7 separate regions of the Homo sapiens genome follow, and regions 1, 3, 4, 5, 6 and 7 are each linked to region 2. The links are contacts of gene promoters, found by promoter capture Hi-C in blood cells and fetal thymus (Javierre and others, 2016). All regions are on one chromosome and are shown on one strand. Each heading gives the region's core, a stretch centred on a gene start or on the middle of the fragment in contact. The rest is flanking DNA. Distances are from core to core; before and after follow the strand shown.

Region 1 (2,866 bases), core at 9-2,508, 470 kb after region 2:
ATTGGTCTAACTTACTAATTTAAGTTGGTATCAAATTTCTTTGTAAAATTATTCTGGATAATGAAAGACTCCTTAAAGAACATCTTGTATTTCAATGTTAGAAAGTTATAAGTAGATTCACTTTTTTGTCCATTTTCAAGTTATAGTTTTTACATTTATTTTTCTGACTTACATGATAGGACTTTTTTTCTCCCAACAAACATTAGTCGCTGTTAATTATTTTTCAATTAACTTGCCTGCCCCTAAATGTGGTAGCATGGCATACAGCATGTTCTGCTTCTGAGGTCTTGATATTGAATTGGTTTGTAAGAATACCTCAGAGATAGATTACTGCCGCTTGGTCATTCATTCAGAAAGCATTTATTGAGGGCCCATTCTGTCCTGGGCAATCTCACCACAGTCCTGTATTACAGAAAGACTTGTAAATAGGTAAAGTATGGTTGGTGGCTGAATAGAGATGTGGGAGTTGAAATATTTTAGAGGAATTACTCTTCTTGTTCATCTTTCTGTAAGTGGTCCAGGTCAGAGTACTGTTGTGTAATATTTATTTAATACTATCAACATATTAGTACCATGTAATAGATCAGATTTTATGACCTTAATGGACTCTAGTGTATCATTTTACCTTTTATTTATTATTTATTAGATCTTGCTATGTTGCCCAGGCTGATCTTGAACTCCTGGCCTCAAGCCATCCTCCCACCTCAGCTTCCTGAGTAGCTGGGAGAAGAGGCATGAGCCACTGTGCCTGACCGTTTTACCTTTTAAATGACTTTAGCTATTAACTAACTTGGGTTTAAATTTCAGTTATTTTTCTTTGGTTTCTTTTTCTTTGAAGGGTTCTGAATGCTTAGCCTTCACTAATGTTCTTTCATATAGTAGTTTTCAAACTTTTGAGGTTGTTTAACCTTATTGCAGTTTGTGTGTATGTATGTGTGTGTACACACACGCATGCCTGAGCTGTTGATATGGTGTTACAGCACCATAGTGATGTTTTCCTGGTGGCTCTTTTGAAGACTGTTCTACAAGATAGGGTTTATAGAGAAAGATGGGTATTCACTTAGCTATTAGAAACTAAATAGTCATGGTAGATACATGTTTTGTCATTTAGTCTAATTGAACGGTTCCATATGATTTTATGAGTTTTTGTTATCTTGAATAGTTGAGCAATTTGCATCATGTTTTTCAGAGCGAAGGCATTTATTTCAGTGCAGCTTGTTACTGTTGAGATGCCAATAGTTAACATCTGTTAATTGATTTTCTATATATTGTACTTTTTGGCCAGAGATTAGATAATTTATTAATATACAACATATTTTCTGTAATGTCCCCTTGCTTTTATCCAGAGACCCAGAGCATGTTATTTTAACCCCTCTCTTGTCCGCTTTGGGAAGTTCAAATTCAAGGTACCCCCGGTATATATGGTAAACCTATTAGGAACAGAAAACAGTTAAAACTTCCCAAGTGTGATCTAGTTTTTCATGTCTTGGTAAAGAAGAAATCCCAGGTGGGCTGTGCAAACAGTTCATAGAAAGGGGTTAAAAAAGATATTTAAAAAGTTTTAGGCTGGCATTACCTGAATTGGGGCAATGATTAGGGAGACATGATTAGAATTCTAAGGGGGAGTGAGAATGTAAAGGGGAGCACCATCTGTAATTAAATTGTTTTAAATTGTGGAATAATTTTAAATTTATAAAAAAGTTGCAAAGATAGTACAGAGTATTCCTGTATACCTTTCACCGGTGTCTCCTAATGTTAACTTCTTACATAACCATGGCACATACTGTCACATCTAAGAAATTAACATTGGTACAATACTATTACTAAACTATAGACTTTATTTGGATTTCACAAGTTTCTCCACTAATTTCCTTTTTCTATACCCAAACTGAATCTAGAATACCACATTCCAGTTAGATCATGTGTAATTTCTTTTTTTTTTTTTTTTTCTGAGGCGAAGGTCTCACTCTGTCGCCCAGGCTGGAGTGCAGTGGCGCCATCTCGGCTCACTGCAAGCTCCGCCTCCCGGGTTCACGCCATTCTCCCGCCTCAGCCTCCCAAGTAGCTGGGACTATAGGCGCCCGCCACCATACCCGTCTAATTTTTTTTTTTTTTTGAGACGAATCTCACTCTGTCGCCCAGGCTGGAGTGCAGTGGCGCGATCTCGGCTCACTGCAAGCTCCGCCTCCTGGGTTCACACCTTTCTCCTGCCTCAGCCTCCCAAGTAGCTGGGACTACAGGCGCCCACCACCACACCCAGCTAATTTTTTGTATTTTTAGTAGAGACGGGGTTTCACATGTTAGCCAGGAAGGTCTCGATCTCCTGACCTTGTGACCCACCTGCCTGGGCCTCCCAAAGTGCTGGGATTACAGGTGTGAGCCACTGTGCCCGGCCATTTTTTGTATTTTTAGTAGAGATGGGATTTCACCATTTTAGCCAGGGTGGTCTCGATCTCCTGACCTCGTAATCCGCCCACCTTGGCCTCCCAAAGTGCTGGGATTACCGGTGTGATCCACTGTGCCCGGCCTCTTTTTTTTTTAAAATGGAGTTTCGCTCTTGTCACCCAGGCTGGAGTGCAATGGCACCATTTTGGCTCACTGCCACTTCTGCCTCCTGGGTTCAAACTATTCTCCGGCCTCAGCCTCCCGAGTAGCTGGGATTACAGGCGCCTGCCACCACGCCTGGCTAATTTTTGTATTTTTAGTAGAGATGGGATTTCACCATGTTGGCCAGGCTGGTCTCGAAATTCTGACCTCAGGTGATCTGCCCGCCTCGGCCTCCCAAAGTGCTGGGATTATAGGCATGAGTCACTGTGCCCGACCAGATCGTGTATAATTTTGATAAATAAGTTGGTATTTCCAGTGA
Region 2 (2,755 bases), core at 227-2,726:
ACGTTAATCAAAGTAGGTAATGATTCCCAACATGGGCTATTGTGTCTTCCACGTTTATTTTCTACACTTGATGTTAGCCAAAAGGCCAAGGAGCAATTCCATTTTCTTTCTTTCCTTCTTTCTTTTCTGAGACAAGTCTCACTCCGTCGCCCAGGCTGGAGTGCAGTGGCGCCATCTCAGCTCACTGCAACCTCCATCTCCCGGGTTCAAGCAATTCTCTGCCTCAGCCTCCTGAGTGGCTGGGATTACAGGCGCCCGCCACCAAGCCCAGCTAATTTTTTTGTATTTTTAGTAGAGACGGGGTTTCACCATCTTGGCCAGGCTGGTCTTGAACTCCTGACCTCGTGATCCACCCGCCTCAGCCTCCCAAAGTGCTGGGATTACAGGTGTGAGCCACCGCGCCTGGCCGTTTATTTTAATATATTCTTCAGCTCTGAATATTTGCTAGTATCCCAGTAATAGTTTGTTAAATCAATAAACGTGTTGACATACATGCATAGCATAATGTCTGGCACACAGTAGGTACTCCATTGAATGAATGCATGAATTATTACCGTGTCAATTTGCTTGTCTATTTGCAAATGTTAATAGTTAATTTGATCCCTAAAGTGTTTGTGAACTTAAAACACACACATACGCACTTTCCCTGACAACGCTTATCTGCTAACCCCTTAATTATGTTCATCTGAGACTGGACCAAAACATGTTGTTTTATTCAATTTAAATACCAAATTCAAATTTATTTTGAATATAGCTTAGAACACATTCAATGTTTGCTAAAATAATAATAATAATAATAATAATAATAATAATAATAATACCATGTACATTCAGTTAGCCAGACAATTACTCCAGCCCAAATACCCTGCTATGGGACATGAACCGGATGTCTGCCCGGCACACATTCATCAGGTGACCCCTAAAACTTCTTCTCTAAGGTCCACACTGTCTAATAGCCAAGTTGAAATCTTTCCTCGAAATTTTCCTCTCTAGTGTCTCAGTGCCCCAGGTGTCATCAAGGTGTCAAAGGCGCTTGGGAGTGCCTGCAAACCGCCCCATCCCCGGAGACACAGCCTCATTCCCCGCCCTCGCGCCTAGGCGGCCGGTGGGCGGGCCCAGCGAAGGGCCTTGTGGCTGTTTCCTATTGGGGCTTGGTTGCTATGGTGTCACTCGCCTTTAAACTCGTGGGTACATCTTTCGGAAATTAAAGGAGAATTACTTCCAGGGCTGCCCATACTTGCCATGGCCGACTCAGTAGTCACTAACTTCAACAAAAATAAAACTGTTGCAATAGTATTCTATTAAAGCTTCTTTAACTGCTTAAACTTGCGGTTTTGACATGGTACCTATCCTTTCTTCCCTTTTCAAAAGATTCGCTATAGAGTCTTTCTCTACATGCCAGTCTCCAAAATGGCGCGGACGGCATCAGAAGGTCAGAGGTGAGTCACGTGGGTCCCCCCGGTTCCGGCGCGGTTGAGGCCTTCGGTGGTGAACGAGTCTCCAGCACCATGTCTGGTTTGTCTGGCCCACCAGCCCGGCGCGGCCCTTTTCCGTTAGCGTTGCTGCTTTTGTTCCTGCTCGGCCCCAGATTGGTCCTTGCCATCTCCTTCCATCTGCCCATTAACTCTCGCAAGTGCCTCCGTGAGGAGATTCACAAGGACCTGCTAGTGACTGGCGCGTACGAGATCTCCGACCAGTCTGGGGGCGCTGGCGGCCTGCGCAGCCACCTCAAGGTGCGGCATTGGGCGACGTGGGGCCGGGAGGGAAGACGGCAGGCTTAGGCGAGGGGAGGCTCGGGTTCGGGGGAGTCGGGCCGGCGGAGGCCTGGGAGTTGTTCTGGCCTCCCGGGAGCGCAAAGGACGTGCGGTGGAGCCCGCCCCCTCACCCCGCTGGTTGCCTGTCGCGGGGCGGGGCGGGTCACCAACGCCTGGGAACCCCAAGAAGGGCTGCGAGGCTTTGGCGGATGTGGTGACACCTGAGCTGGGGCGGTTGTCAACGTCCTATACCAGTTTTGGTCTCAGATACATTGAACCGTAATTTGGTTCTCCAAATAAATGTTGGGGTGTTGAATATTTATACGGATTGGCATCATAAGATACCGCGATACCTGCAGGAAAGTAAAGGAGACAGAGCTAACCGTGATTAATAAAATGTTATTTATTGAGCATCTGCTGTGTCAGTTACTGTGCTACTTTGCATATATTACCATTTGGTTCATGCACTACCCTATGAAGTAGGTAGGTACTGTTAGCCCCATTTTACAAATGAGGAAACTGAGACTCAGAGGTAGGATAAACTAGTAAGTGTCACAGATGGAATAGATTCTTTTTTTTTTTTCAAAATTATTATTATACTTTAAGTTCTAGGGTACATGCGCACAACTTTCAGGTTTGTTACATATGTATACATGTGCCGTGTTGGTGTGCTGCACCCATTAACTCGTCATTTACATTAGGTATGTCTCCTAATGCTATCCCTCCCACCTCCCCCCACCCCACGACAGGCCCCGGTGTGTGATGTTCCCCACCCTGTGTCCAAGTGTTCTCATTGTTCAATTCCCACCTATGAGTGAGAACATGCGGTGTTTGGTTTTCTGTCCTTGCGATGGAATAGATTCTTACTTAGTTTGGTAGTTAAGTATGTTGAGGGAAAAGCGCTGCAACCTTATTCCTTCCTTGTTTTAAATTTGTAATTTCTGTAGTTGATTAAAGTCGATTATTGGTTACAAAATGGTCTCAGTCTCTAGTCCTTTTTC
Region 3 (2,752 bases), core at 136-2,635, 370 kb before region 2:
GAGCTATGACAGCAGCTCTGCACTCCAGCCTGGGCCACAGAGTGAGACCTTGTCAGAAAAGAAAGAAAGAAAAGAAGAAAAGAAGAGAGAAAGAGAGAAAGAAAGAAAGAAAGAAAGAAAGAAAGAAAGAAAGCAAAAAGAAAGGAGGAAAGAAAGGAAGAAAGGAATAAGAAAGGAAAAAAAGGAAGGAAGGAAGAAAGAAAGAAAAAAAGAAAGAAGGAAGGGAGGGAGGGAAGGAGGGAGGGAGGAAGGGAAGGAAGGAGGGAGGGAGGGAGGAAGAAAGGGAAGGGAAGAAAAAAAGAATTGAGAGATTTCATGTAGAAATTCTGATTTTGGCTTTTCTTGACAAACTGGAAGACATGGCAAGCCCAGGCCTAAATTCCCACATGGCACCATGGGAGAGAACTGAACGACAGACAGCTGCACACTCTCCTTAGTTTGCCACATTCTCCACCACTCCCAATTGCCCTACATCCAGTGGGTCCCATGCTTTCACAGTGCCTGCCTGGGTAGAAGGCGTTTGAGTGTGGGTCAAGTGGCCCACCAGACTGAGGGAGCCATCCCTGTCATGGGTAGAAGGCTGGGACAGAACCTGGTTGGTGAAACATCCAAGGTTAAAGCTACGGATGTTCAAATTTCTATTCATGGCTGCCTCTCCAATTTGCCTGCATGGACATGAAGTCAGCCTTGGCACCAGCTCCAGGCTCAGCTACCTGCTACCTCTACCGGGCTGACTAGACAGGAGAAGTGGAACTGCCTGGGGTCAGTAGAAAGTAGAGAATGAAAGGGGAAGAGAAGTCCTTGCTGAGAGATGGGAACCGTGCACGTGAACTCTGCTTTTCTAGTTCTGGCCCTGAATGTCATTCAGAAGATGCCGGCAGAAGTCATGTGCCTTCTGTGGGGGTTTCTGGGGAAAATCACAGTGCTAGAGCATGGGTGGAGATGAAAATCTCTGATTCAAAGAAAGCCTGCCCACAAGAGGCCAGGCCCTGGCAGAGATAGTAGCAAAGAAAGCTGGACTCAAAGTTCTACGTCTTTAGATCGTGAAAGAAGGCCAGGTGCAATGGCTCATGCCTGTAATCCCAACACCTTGGGAAGCTGAGGTGGGAGGATCGCTTGAGTGTGGGTAGTCAAGGCTGCAGTGAGCCATGATTGCACCACTGCACTCCAGCCTGGGTGACAGAGTGAGACCGTGTCTCAAAAAAAGAAAAAATAATAATTATGAAAGAAAAATGAATTATATTTTATGACTGCAACATCTGAAGTGAAGATCGGCTTCTTTGCTCTTCTCGTTAACAGAGGGGTGGGAAAGAGCTAGACAGAGCGTTAGCTACCAAAATCCAGGTTCTGAAGGAAATTAAGAAAGCTCCTCCTCATGACACATCTGCCCAGTCCACATGGAGGCTCTGCACTGAAAGGGGAGCCTGTTTTGCCACGTTTCGTTGGGAGACCAAAGGTTACAATGCAAGATTCTGTGCTGGGAGAAATGCCAGCACTCAGGGAACGTCTTCTGGGCTGTCTTCCCAGGCTCTGAATTACGGGGCTCAGCCCAGTGTCCACATCCTAGGCTCCCATGGGCACCAGCTTCTCTGGTGAGAGCCCCAAAGATTGCAATGTGCCATCAGAGGCTGTTGGGTTGGACTCCTCCCAAGGGGCTGTGACCCCACCACCTGCTGGGATGCAGCTCATCCAAACTTCTATGGCATTTAATAATCACAATAGCCCAACACTGGCATCATCTGAGAGGGGCAGGAGAGACACACACAGGGGAGGTCTAGAGTTGAAACTTGGCCTCAAACCGGCCAGAGTGGTTGGCCAGCGGGTTCAGGGGGCACTGACACAGGGAAGCAGGACTTCTCCTCCCTTCTGTCACCCCATGAGGGATGCCACCGGGGAGGCAGCAGGCAGAGGCTGTCCCTCTAAAGGACAAATGGATGAGACTGAGGGTGGCTACTGAAGGAGCTCAATCAGGTGGGCGCCTGGCACAATGATCTCCGTTGCTTTTGTCTCCAGCTGGCTCAGCAGGGGTTGTGTGTGGCCAGGCCCTGCTGCAGGCTTTGCTCGTGGGCAGTGGTGTGGGTAAGGCTGTGTCAGGCAGGCCAGCAGGCACTTGGCCTGGGGATCTCTGAAGAGCAGGGGGGTGGAGCATGCTGGTTTCAGGCTCTGCCAAACTGAAGATGACCCTGTGTTCCCTGAGCCCTCAAAGTGCTCAAATGGCAGCCTGCGGAGCCCTGCGGGGACAGGACAAGTCCTGTGCTCTGTATCACCGCCTTCTAAGGGAGGTGGAGTCTTCAGCAGGACATGTACACCACTGGCAGAGAAGTCCCTGTGGACCCAAGCTGCATGTTGCCCCTTGAGAGCATTAGGAAGACACCGCCTTCCATGTGAAGGGCAGCCTGGCACAGGGCCTGGTTGCAGCATCCGGAGACTTGGCTGTCAGGATGGAGCCAGTTGGCTGGGTGAGTGGAGTCATGAGTGGGAGACGAGAAGGTCAACCTGACTTACCACCTCACCAGGTGAGGCCATCCTGCACTGGGCCTTCTCCCGGACTAGGGGACAACCTGCTCATGGTCTAGAAAGCAGTGAAGAATGGAAGGTGGGAGGTCACCGTGAGGGGAGCATGGGAGGGCAATCCAGAAGACACCTAGGCTGGGCATGGTGACTCATGCCTGTAATCCCAGCACTTTGGAGGCCCAGGCGGGTGGATCACTTCAGGCCAGGAGTTCGAGACCAGCCTGACCAACATGGTGAA
Region 4 (2,861 bases), core at 351-2,850, 430 kb before region 2:
TGCATACTAGGCACCCTACTCAGAAGGGAAGAGAAAGATGCAAGACAAGGAGCTCACTCTCACCCGGTTTATAATGTAATATACCTTGATCTTGACCTACAGCCTTGGTGTTGGGTTTCCTCCTCATCTTTGTGGGGGGTGCAAGTTAGCTGAAGAGCAGAGATACACTAGGCTGTAAACAGAGAAGTTGCTAAGTTTAGGTGAAGAAAATGAGTTTCACAAGGAAAGTTTTCTGATTAAAGAAAAAAAAAGGAACACTGACAAAGGCCGTGTTTTATTTTTTTAGCTAAGCCCGGTATTTATGCTTGCTTTCTGTCATCATGAACTCAGGAGCTTCCTGGCACACACTCCTCCTTTTAAGGACTTGGTGTTCCCCTTGAAGTTGTCCTCATGGTGAACTCCACAAAGGGCCAGCCTAGGTCTACTTTGGGTGCAGAAGTGAAGAATCCACTGCCTTTTCTTTCAGTGAGAGAACAAATCACTGTCACCTCAATACATTAATGTCCCTCTAGCTGACTGTGCTGAAAGCCAGTGGTCACAGAACTTCCCCATGACTCGGCTAGGAAGGAGGAAAAATGAGTGGGTGTCTTTCAAACCACCCGGCCAGCTGAGATCACATCAGATCACATCATGCAAATCTTACTCCAAAGTTTTCACATTTGAAGTAGGCGATGTGCAAAGCGCCATTCAAATGCTTTGGCACTGATTGCCCACCAATTCTGTCCCAGACACCAGCAATCAACAGCCAACAGAGGGATTCTCCGGTCTTCTGCATTCCCTTAACACTAACCCCCCATCTATCCCCCCCAACTCAAAGGTGCCACTCCCTGACCTTTGACAGATAAAACAGCCCAAAGGAGAATAATTGTCTCCTTTGTCTGCAAGGCAACATTCTGGCATTCCTAAAAGGGATGCTCACGTGACGACCAATGTTTCTAATCCTCCCATGTTTCCTTCTAAATCTGGATGGACTTTCTGGTAATAGCCCTCCTATTCTGATTTTTTCAGGGGTAAAACCCTGCCAATTACTTACTGGCAGGCCCTGGAAGAGTTGCTGCTTCATGGACTGCCATGGGCAAAACCCAGTTCCTCTGGAGCATGCACTTCAAGAAATAGATAGGATGGGACCCATGTAGCTTTTTCCTAAGAAGCCAACTTCATAAGTTAACTAAGCTTGCCTCAGGATCCCAGACAGACAGCTGGAAAGAAAAAGAAATCTCAAGCTTACACCAAAAAAACTATTAGTCACTCACATCTATAACGCCCTGAGAGAGAGAAAGAGAGAGATTGCAGCACCATTAGATCTGGCCCTGTTATTTAGGGAGTTACTCAGGGACCTGCTTAGCTAAAAACATCTCCTAATATCCTGCTTTGAAGTCACCCGCCCTCCTACTTGGGCTGACATTTGCACCATTAGCCGCTCCGGTGTGACTGGCTTATAGTGTAATCTCTCTTCCCTTCAATGTGAACTCTACAAGAACAGAGGGCTATTGCCAACAGGGACCTTCCCTTTCCCATTCATTGCTGCATCCCCAGCTGTGAAAATGTTTGTTGTTTGGCACAGAGTAGATGCTCAATAATATTTGTTCAATAAATAAAATAAAGGCTATGGTGCATTGTCTAAAAAAAAAACACATGACAGGCCAAGGGGAGGAGGGCCTTCTTTAGTGGCTTTCATTTCTCTCATTGCCTGCTGTCAACTGGAAAGACATAGGGAAGCTGGCTGGAGGGGATGCAATTCAGGACAAGCAGGATTCAAGGAACTTGTTGTAGAACAGAGACAAAGATGTGATAGCCAGGGGACTGTGTGGGTTATTTGCAAGGGACAGAGGTCTGGCCCAGGATGGGGGCACACTAATAAAGGACATGGCTTTTGGTGGGGCAGCATGAGAATACGGGGGCAGCCATACCCAGGGAAGACAATGAGGAACCTTCCTCCCTAAGGAGAGATATAAGAATTCTGGAGAGAGAAGCTTGTCGAACGGAAACTGCAACATCTTCCTAAGGGTTCCAACATCTTCACAAGGGCTGTCCAAGCCCTACCGATCCCCATTTGTTACCATCGATCATTGCCACTTGCTAACTGTGAGGGGCTGCGAGAAAACTTGGTAGGGCCAGGACCACCATGCCCTCAGGATAAAACTTCTCCCTCCCAGGCCTATGTCCTGAGGGTGGGGATGAATCAGTTCTGTGCTATGCCACCACAGCCATTTTCCTACACTGAAGAGAGGAACCATCTTAGGCACATATAGACTCAAACGTTGCATCGTGCCACTCCTGGCAAAAGGCCCCTCTGCAGCAAGCGGTCAGTTTCCTGGAATGAAAAAGAACCAGAATGCTCCACAGGATTCCTGGAGCCGCCGAACAGCTCAGCTCAAGAGGATCAAATCAGCAAGTATAGCTTCCTTTCTTTGCCGATGAGAGGAAGGCTTTGAAACCCAGAAGCTCTGAGAGAGTCTCCTACGGTAAGGATGATGGAGCTTATCCTGAACCATGAGCCGGTGTAAAGGCAGGAGTGCTGAGCCCTCTACATGGAGGGCATGGCCCCCAATCCAGGCAGGACACGATGTGTGTCTAGAGAAGCCCTTTTTATTCTACTGTCAAAGGGCAAGTCCAGAGTATTTTTTGATTTTTTAGATGAGAACTCACACTGTTGCCCAGGCTGGAGTGCAGTGGTGCAATTACTGCTCACTGTAACCTCAAACTCCTGGGCTCAAGTGATCCTCTCTAGCTCCCAAGTAGCTAGAACTACAGGCATGTGCCACCACACCCAACCAACTTTTTAACTATTTTTGTAGAGATAGAGTCTCACTATGTTGCGAAGACTGGCCTTAAACTCCTGGCATCAAGTGATTCTCCCA
Region 5 (2,700 bases), core at 16-2,515, 350 kb before region 2:
CCAAGCATGGAAAGGAGTCAAGGGCAAACCACACACTGAGCCCTGACACTGGTGGTAAACCAGAAGACTTTTCACCTGAATCTCAGACATAATTAAGAGGATAATGGATGGAGAAGATAGGTGATTGTCATCTCGGAGGAAAGGAAGATGTCAAACCACAGCTAATTTGATGTAGGGCAGATTGAACACGTTGCTGCCAAAAGCTTCTACCTGAAGCCAAGAAACATAAGTTGCATTGGCAGCAGTCCGCAGGCTTGCTGCATCAACTCCGCTGCGACCTACTCATTGGGCAAAAGGTAAAGACGATGCTGTGGTGCTCAAAAGAAAGCAGTGGAGGAGGAATCTGTGTTCAGATGTGGGGAAGATTGGAACATTCTAGAAACTGAGGCTGGGGTGTGGCTATGGATATGTTGACTATATGACTTGGGGCTCTGTGGACCCTCAAGCTCTAGAGATTACCCTAATGTCACATGACTTGTATAATTAGATGAGCTGACTCTTTGGGCTCTGACATTTGTCTTGGAGAGGGAGAGAGCTGATTCAGTGCTGAAAGCCTTGCCGCAGCAAAGAGACATCTGTGTCACCCTCATTAATACGTTCCCCAAGGGTTTGGATGAAGACCAGTGAGTTGAATTTACAGGGAGACAGGGGTGCAGCTTAACATAGGAAAGACTCTTCTGTTCATAAATTGGGAGAGAGGAAGATCTCCAGCCCTAGAAGTGACCAGGCATACAATGGGACCATTGGCTGGAGGTGTTGCAGAGAAGTCTGAAGCATCAAACTTATGTCTAAACTTTCTAGCCTTTAAGAAACCTTTCAACCCTGAGCTTCTGTGATTAAATATACACAAAATGTATATATGTTTTCATATATATATAAAATGTGTGTATAATTTGTGATTATCTTGCTTCTTATGATAATTATTATTACTCTTATTATACTTAAATTTTTGAGTATTTATGAATGACAGGCATTGTGTTGGGCTCTTTAAATGTACGATCTGTATAGGGTAGTTATTGTCATTTTCCATTTTCTAGATAAGGAAACCAAGCCCAAGGGAGGCCAAGAACGTCTCTGTCACACAGATAGTAGGCAGCAGGGCTGGGATTCAATCCCTGTTCTGACTGCTGAGCTGCCGAACTATACTTACATTCCACTTAAGAAAACAGGTACACACTTAAAAAGCTTACAGCAGTTTGCCAGTCTGAGGACATTGTCTACTTGTACACAAGGAAGATTTTATCCTTTTAAATTTTGATTGGTCTGTTTGCTTGCCCTAAAGAATAGTGAATCAGAATCAGACTCTGATAGAGAAAGAGGTAAGGATCATAGATGTTCAAGCTTAAGGTGGTAAACCAGAATGTGGGGACACAGTGAAATCATGGAGAACATACAAGCAGCAGGGCCACCAAAAACTTGACATTCAGACTGTTGAGCACAGTTAGTACAGACTTTCTGTTCATTCATTCTTTCCAAAAAGTTAACAAATAGCTGTGAATTTAATGTTAGTGTGCAATGGAGTGTAAGCTGAATACATTTCAAATAAAACCCAAGCACCCAATCAGAGCTGTTGGTGCAGTCTGCTCTGTTTCCTTGTAAAGCTGAAAGATGCATTATTTCCCCTAAAACTACATCTTACTTACTTATTCTTGATACGGTTAACACAGCCATTCTAACTGGCTGATTATCATGCTAATCTTCCAGATAAATACAAGCTTATTGATTTTTGGTGCCAATTGCACTTTTTCCATGGAAAGGAATTGCTAGGCTATTAGAGGTAAGGGAATGTTTCTGGAGCAAGGGCAGGAAGGTAGAGTTGCTAGGGAAGGGGATGAGGGGATGGAGAGAAAGGAACTAGTGAAGAGTTGGTTGAACAAGAACCATACTGGGGGCAGAGTGAAGAGAGGTAAGGTGGTAAGGTATGAGCAATGGGGAGGAAGCAGTACTTTATAAGGGGCACAGCCAGAACCTAGAAACACCATCTAGGGCCTTGGCCACTGGCGGAACTGCAGTTCAGCACTGCTCAAGGCCCCTGGACCACTCAAGACAGAGGTAAAAGCTTTCTCTAGAAAAATTTGGGACTAGAGGCAACTCAACTAGGATGGTGATCATCCCAGATAAGGGCACTTGAAATTGCATCTTTCATAGACCCCTTGGGATACCATTAAAGACAGAAATTTCAAAATAAGACTTTAATAATGCTCTGAAAAGAGGAATCTGGTACAGCGCCCTGTGAATTTCCTTGTGTCAAATGCAGGGGCATTTGGGTCTCTGCCAAGGGATGCGACTATGTGTGGTCCTTGCACTGCGAGACAATGGGCCGTCCCCAAAGCACTTGATACCTTCTAAATTCTTTCCCAATACAGCTCTGCCTTCTCCCACCCCTTGAGCCCTCCTGGGGTAGAAAGGCCCATTTCTCTGTTCAGCCTCCTGGCCCATTCCCTGCTACAGAGCCTTCTATTTTTTTTTTTTTTTTTTTGAGATGAAGTTTCACTCCTATCACCCAGGTTTGAATGCAATGGCGCGATCTCGGCTCACTGCAACCTCTGCCTGTTCAAGTGATTCTCCTGCCTCAGCCTCCCAAGTAGCTGGGACTACAGGCATGCACCACCATGCCTGGCTAATTTTTTGTATTTTTAGTAGAGACGAGGTTTCACCATGTTGGCCAGGCTGGTCTCGAACTCCTGACCTCAGGTGACC
Region 6 (2,700 bases), core at 169-2,668, 490 kb before region 2:
TCACTGGTATGGCTATGATCTAAGAAACAGAAAATATCAAATGTTAGTGAGGATGTGGAGAAACTGGAACCCCTATACGTTGTTGACGGGAATGTAAAACGGTACAGCTGCTATGGAAAACAGTTTGACACGGAATAAGTTAAACACAGAATTACCATATGGCCTAGCAATTCCATTCCTAGGTATACCCCAAAGAACTGAAGATTAAGTGTCCAAACGACTTTTCCGTGAACATTCATAGCAGCACAATTCACAACAGACAAAAGGTGGAAAAAGGCCAGACACAGTGGATTATGCATGTAACCAAGGCAGGATTGCTTAAGGCCAGGAGTTTGAGACCAACATAGGCAACACAGTGAGATCCTGTATCTAAAAAATAAATAAATTTTAAAAACAAAATTAAAAAAAAAGGTGGAAACAAAAAAAATGTACATCAACTGATGACTGGATAAACAAAATGTGGTGTATCATTGGAATGCATTCATTAGCATATACAATGGAATGTTATTCAGCTATAAAAAGGAATAAAGGACTGATATATACTCCAACATGGATGAACCTCAAAAACATTATGCTAAGTGAAAAGAAGCCTGCCAAAAAAGGTCACATATCACATGACTCCATTTATATAAAACATCCAGAATATGGGAATCTATAAAAACAGAAAATAGATGAGTGGTTGCCAGGGACTGGTGGTATGGGGGCTGGGGATATCTGCTTAATGGGTATTGGCTGTACTTTGGAGATGATGAAAATGTTCTGGAACTAAACAGTGGTGACGGCTGCACAACATTGTGAATGTACTAAACAACAACGACTTGTACACTCTAAAATGGTTAAAATGGTAAATTTTGTTAGGTGTATTTTACCACAATTAAAAAAAAAACACATGTACACAATATTCTTGAAAAAAAATCAGAGGAAAAACATAAGCAGAAAACAATTTAAGAAATTATAATGTTTGAAGTATAACAACTCAATTGATTTTTCTCATGGCCAAGGCCCTTTCCCTATATATATGTCATATCAACTTCTTTAAGACAAGGACGTCTGGGCCATGCCCAGCTCCGTCCTCTGTGGGAGAGGTTATACGCACCTCCAATTACTCTAATATTGTTGTCCTTTGTAAGAATAGCGTCGGCATGGAATACCAAAACTGGAATTCTCCTGCAGCCTCCAGTCCACATGATGCATGGATGATCCCTATAACGACAAAAAAGCCTTCATTAATTTACAGCTCAAAACCTGAACTAACTGCTGATGCAGATTACTATGGTTTGTTGCTTAGCAAGTTTCCCCTTCCTTCTGGAATACAAATCCCAAATATCCTGTGGGAAATCACATCTCCCATTCTTAGCTGTGTGTTTAAAATTAACTCTATCCCTGGTTCAGGGATGGGCCTTGATTGGTTTCAGCCAATCAAGATACTTCATCATCCAGTATAATTAGTGGTTCAGAGATAGGCACATAAACCAATTGGAGCCCATAAGTTTAAGGAGACATGTTCTGGACTCTGTGAGAAAGCAATGGTTTCTTTCTCTTCTATAATGGCTACAGATGATAGCCTGTCTTCCTCTTGATGGTATAGGATGAGAATGAGAAGTCTGGAAGGGCAACAACCATTTTGTGACCTTGAAAGAAGAGCCTGTAGCTGTTGGTGAAGGAGAAAGTCAGCAGGAGGTTGACTGAAGAGATAAAGTGGGATTTTCAGAATCAAGATATGCCTGAATATGAGTGAAAGTATTCTCTTTATTACTTAGGACCATTTGGATTATGTTGTAATCCTTTGCACACATAAAGAATCCTAACTGATGAGTTCACAATAATTTACATACTCCTTTTACACGCTATAGTCCATTTTCAAGCCAATTTGATGATGCATCCTAAGACTCTGAACTAGGAACTCTAAATTAATACAAGTATCCCAATTAAAATCACATATTTTAAAGGAAGCCCATGCTAAATGGAACAATATATATTTTCCTCCAGTATAAAACCACAGGGGAGAAAAAGACCTCTGACTTTATTCTCTTTCCCTATCCTCAGGAAATCTCAGCTTAATTTTAGGCTGATGAATATTTACTCACAGATCAGAAAAACCTTCACCCTCATTAGGGCAGGGAGGTAGGAAGAGAAATAAAATTAAATGAACTGAGTCCCTACTATGTGCCAGGATTTAAACTAAGAGCTCTCATATCTCACTTAATCCCCCTGCCCATACTATGAACTGCAGGAAAACTGTCTCAGAAAGGTTAAGTAACCTGCCTAAGGTCATATAGCTGGTTAAGTAAGGGATGAGGTATTTGAACCTAACATCTGTATTCTTTCTACTGTTTGCCTCCCTAATCGCATTTCAGCAAAGTTGTATATATTGGATACCTTGAATTCAATTATTTGGGAACTTAAACTGATAATTCCTTAAATGCAATACAATCCACTTGGCCAAGATTCACTCGACTCTTAAAAACTCACATAACCACATCCCTTAACAAAGGTCATACCACAAATCTCAGGGCCAAGTCAGCCCCTCCCAATCCAACTTTAAAAAGATCCACACTCGGGCCGGACACGGTGGCTCACGCCTGTAATCCCAGCACTTTGGGAGGCCGAGGCAGACAGATCACGAGGTCAAGAGATCGAGACCATCCTGGCCAACATGGTGAAACCCCGTCTCTACTAAAAATACAAAAATTAGCTGGG
Region 7 (2,824 bases), core at 63-2,562, 390 kb before region 2:
AAGTTGCCCCATAAATATGAGAAAGAGCTAACTAAAAAACATGAGTCAAAGAGGAAGGAGACATTAAAATGGCTTGTCTTTTTGCATAATCTATAGAAAGCCCGGAGGTGTGAGGCTCCCTTTTCATAATGGAATAGAGAAACGGGGGTAGCAGCAAGATTTGTTGATTGCCAGGGCAACAGTTAAAGGCACATGGCATGACAAAGCAGAGGGGTGCTGGCTGGGCAGGGTTATGCAATGCTGGAGCCACAGTGACAGAGAAAGGACACACAAAGTCATCTCAGCCAGCCCCTTGATGTACAGGGTATAATACCTGGGCCCAGGGGACTGTCTTAACAGAGTCATTCATTTACCCACCATTGATCTCCTGCAGGCCAGGCACTGTGCTGGGTGTAAAGGAAACAAATTCAACAAAGATGAGGCTCTTGCCCTCCAAGAATCCACAAAGTAGTGGTGAGACAGTTATGTGAGCAGATCATTGCCAGGTGGTACAATAAATGTGTGGTCCATGCTGGTTCATGGGACTCCCAAAGCTTAGAGTCAAGGGGGGCTTCTCAGAGAGATGCTAGGTCGGGATCTTGAGGGATAGATGAGACTTAGCCAGGCCCTGTGGCAGGTGCTGAAGATCCTAGGAGTGAGCAAAACAAACGTGGTCCCTCCCTACCTTCATGGAGCTTACAGTGTCCTTGAGAGGACAAACATCAATCAAACACTTACATACACACATAAGTAAAATTATAAGTGCTATGAGGGTTATTTGTAAGAATTTATATAGATGGAACAGATGAGTGGGATCTTAAGCAATACGTTTTTAAAAAGTTAGACTTATGGCTCATGCTTGTAATCCCAGGACTTTGGGAGACTGAGGGGGCTGGATCACCTGAGGCCAGGAGTTCGAGACCAGCCTGGCCAACATGGTGAAACTCGGTCTCTACTAAAAATACAAAAAAAATTAGCCATGCATGGTGGCAGGTGCCTGTAGTCCCAGCTACTTTGGAGGCTGAGGCAGGAGGATCGCTTGAACCTGGGAGGCAGAGGTTGCAGTGAGCCAAGAGCATGCCACTGCACTCCAGCCTGGGTGACAGAGTGACTCCATCTCAAAAAATAAAAATAAAAATAAAATAAAAGTGAGACTTAACTTGGTGAAAGAGGGGGGAAGGGCTTTCCAGGAAGAGGGAACAGAATGTGCAAGGCCCTGAACCAGGAGGGAGCAGGGCCCTTTTAAGCCACAAAGCCAATGAGGCTGGAGCAGAGTGAGGGTGAGAAGCAAAGCCAACGTGGTTGGAGAGAGAGGCAGCAGCCAGATTGCACGGGCCTTATTGAGGGCTTTTCTGTTTTTGTTTGTTAACTTTATCCTGGGAGCAAAGGGGAGCCGTTGGGAGGTTTTAAGCAGATGAAGGACATTGTCAGATTTGTCTCCTGTACAGACTGCTCCAGCTGGGCTTGTGGCAAATCCAGTTTGGGTGGGGATGGCCCTCTTAGGAGGCTGCTATGGTCACTCAGGTGAGAATGGAATTTGTGAACTGAATGAGGGCAATGGCAAGACAATGGAGAGAAGTGAGCAGGGGTAGATGGGGGTGGACTAGACTGGAATTGCAGGAGGATGGAGAGGGAGGGGTCAGGAGAATGCCCTGCCTGGGTTTCAGATGTGACCAGCTGGGCAGATGGAGCTGCCATCTGGAGGGAGAATCCCAGCTTCGACATTGAGATCTTCCGCAGAGGGAAGCGAGGCTGTCAAGGACAGGTGCCTGTGTACCCGTGCCTCCTGCTCTTCTCTTCCTCCTCATTCCTTTATTCTTCCTTCTACCCCTTCCCTACAGTGACCTCTGTCACCACAAGATCAAGAGGCCAGAGAACCTACTTCCAATTCAGAGTGTGAATTCCCATGAAAATCCAATCATCAAATTCTATGGAAAGTAAGGCGTCCTGAGTTCCTCACCTCATCTTTCACTCCTTGGCATGGTGCCTCCTCAAGGTTACAGGTAGGACACTTGGCTCAGGTTCCCCTGAATTCTGTGAACAGAAGAATTAGAAATAAACAAACAATTCCAAAATAAAACCCAGATAGTTATGGGTTCCCTTTAAGCTTAAGTCAGTAGTTGTGTGAAGTCCCCCTGATGCCATCAGCCTCCCTGGGCCCCGAGTAGTCCCTGAAAGTGTGTTCTAGTGTCTCAGATGAGAAAACCGAAAGTGCTGACTGTACCCCCAGGTTTTTTTTTTCTTTTCACTGCTGAGTTGATTGCAAATGACAGACGCTCAGCTTTCATCAGCCTAAGCTCAGAGATAGTACATCTGAAGAACATCGGCGGCTGGGGGAGGTGAGGTTCTCAGAGACCTCAAGAGGAGTTGGTGGTCAAGTAGCAGAAGAGCAGAGAGAACCAAGGACTGCAACACATTCAGGATGCTCGGCTTCTCCCATGTTCCCTGCAGGCCAGCTTGCATTTTCTCTCTTCCTAAAGGCTAGTTTCTCCATTTGTCAGAAAACATGGCAGCCAGCAGCCCTGGCATTACACCTCATGACAGCTTCAGCTGCCCGAGAGAAGCTGCCCTTTGTGTCTTAAATACAAACTCCCAGATGCCCATTCCCAGCCTCATCAACCATGACCGTGGTGGCAAAGGCCGCATAAGAACAGGGCAGCTCCCCAGGGGGATCCGTATTGGAGTGGAGGAGGGGCAGTTCCCAGAAGGAGAGGGGCAACTAACCAGGCAGATAAACAATCAATGCCTTCCACCCGCCCCAAGTGCCTTTAGAAACAGAGAACCTAACTCCCTACCCTCTCAGTGCTTGAAAGCCCCATCCACCTGAATAAGGCCCATCCCATTG

The links. Contacts are between HindIII fragments. The CHiCAGO score rates a contact against its expected background, and 5 or more counts as called.
Region 1: a fragment that was not itself captured here is called in contact with the fragment with the promoter of TMED10 in region 2 in 1 of 17 cell types (fetal thymus); the score reaches 5.4 in fetal thymus.
Region 3: a contact is called between a fragment that was not itself captured here and the fragment with the promoter of TMED10 in region 2, in 5 of 17 cell types (M1 macrophages, activated CD4 T cells, neutrophils and 2 more). The highest score is 7.7, in M1 macrophages.
Region 4: a fragment that was not itself captured here is called in contact with the fragment with the promoter of TMED10 in region 2 in 2 of 17 cell types (M0 macrophages and monocytes); the score reaches 6.6 in M0 macrophages.
Region 5: a contact is called between a fragment that was not itself captured here and the fragment with the promoter of TMED10 in region 2, in 7 of 17 cell types (activated CD4 T cells, total CD8 T cells, megakaryocytes and 4 more). The highest score is 8.5, in activated CD4 T cells.
Region 6: a fragment that was not itself captured here is called in contact with the fragment with the promoter of TMED10 in region 2 in 1 of 17 cell types (activated CD4 T cells); the score reaches 5.0 in activated CD4 T cells.
Region 7: a contact is called between a fragment that was not itself captured here and the fragment with the promoter of TMED10 in region 2, in 1 of 17 cell types (activated CD4 T cells). The highest score is 9.6, in activated CD4 T cells.

Annotation. Positions count from the first base shown.
Region 1 is chr14:74,707,043-74,709,908 of GRCh38, reverse strand. The region is part of intron 1 of AREL1 (apoptosis resistant E3 ubiquitin protein ligase 1); the gene reads left to right. Among named protein-coding and RNA genes, the nearest start is that of AREL1, 4.6 kb to the left of the region's middle. The HindIII fragment of the contact is 3,826 bases long and covers 1-2,866 here.
Region 2 is chr14:75,175,333-75,178,087 of GRCh38, reverse strand. TMED10 (transmembrane p24 trafficking protein 10) reads left to right here and starts at 1,476. Exons shown (of 5, transcript NM_006827.6): 1 at 1,476-1,733. The coding sequence starts at 1,509. RefSeq lists enhancers at 1,326-1,565, 1,080-1,652. The HindIII fragment of the contact is 2,239 bases long and covers 1,310-2,755 here.
Region 3 is chr14:75,547,451-75,550,202 of GRCh38, reverse strand. No RefSeq gene overlaps it. Among named protein-coding and RNA genes, the nearest start is that of BATF, 26 kb to the right of the region's middle. RefSeq lists an enhancer at 796-1,045. The HindIII fragment of the contact is 3,328 bases long and covers 1-2,752 here.
Region 4 is chr14:75,607,843-75,610,703 of GRCh38, reverse strand. The region is part of intron 1 of FLVCR2 (FLVCR choline and putative heme transporter 2); the gene reads right to left. It also overlaps the pseudogene RNA5SP387. Among named protein-coding and RNA genes, the nearest start is that of FLVCR2-AS1, 30 kb to the right of the region's middle. The HindIII fragment of the contact is 750 bases long and covers 1,226-1,975 here.
Region 5 is chr14:75,525,439-75,528,138 of GRCh38, reverse strand. All of the region lies in intron 2 of BATF (basic leucine zipper ATF-like transcription factor), which reads right to left. Among named protein-coding and RNA genes, the nearest start is that of BATF, 4.3 kb to the right of the region's middle. The HindIII fragment of the contact is 156 bases long and covers 1,188-1,343 here.
Region 6 is chr14:75,667,919-75,670,618 of GRCh38, reverse strand. It overlaps TTLL5 (tubulin tyrosine ligase like 5), which reads right to left. Exons shown (of 32, transcript NM_015072.5): 3 at 1,097-1,203. Among named protein-coding and RNA genes, the nearest start is that of TTLL5, 8.0 kb to the right of the region's middle. The HindIII fragment of the contact is 5,520 bases long and covers 1-2,700 here.
Region 7 is chr14:75,568,394-75,571,217 of GRCh38, reverse strand. No RefSeq gene overlaps it. Among named protein-coding and RNA genes, the nearest start is that of FLVCR2, 8.8 kb to the left of the region's middle. The HindIII fragment of the contact is 1,553 bases long and covers 536-2,088 here.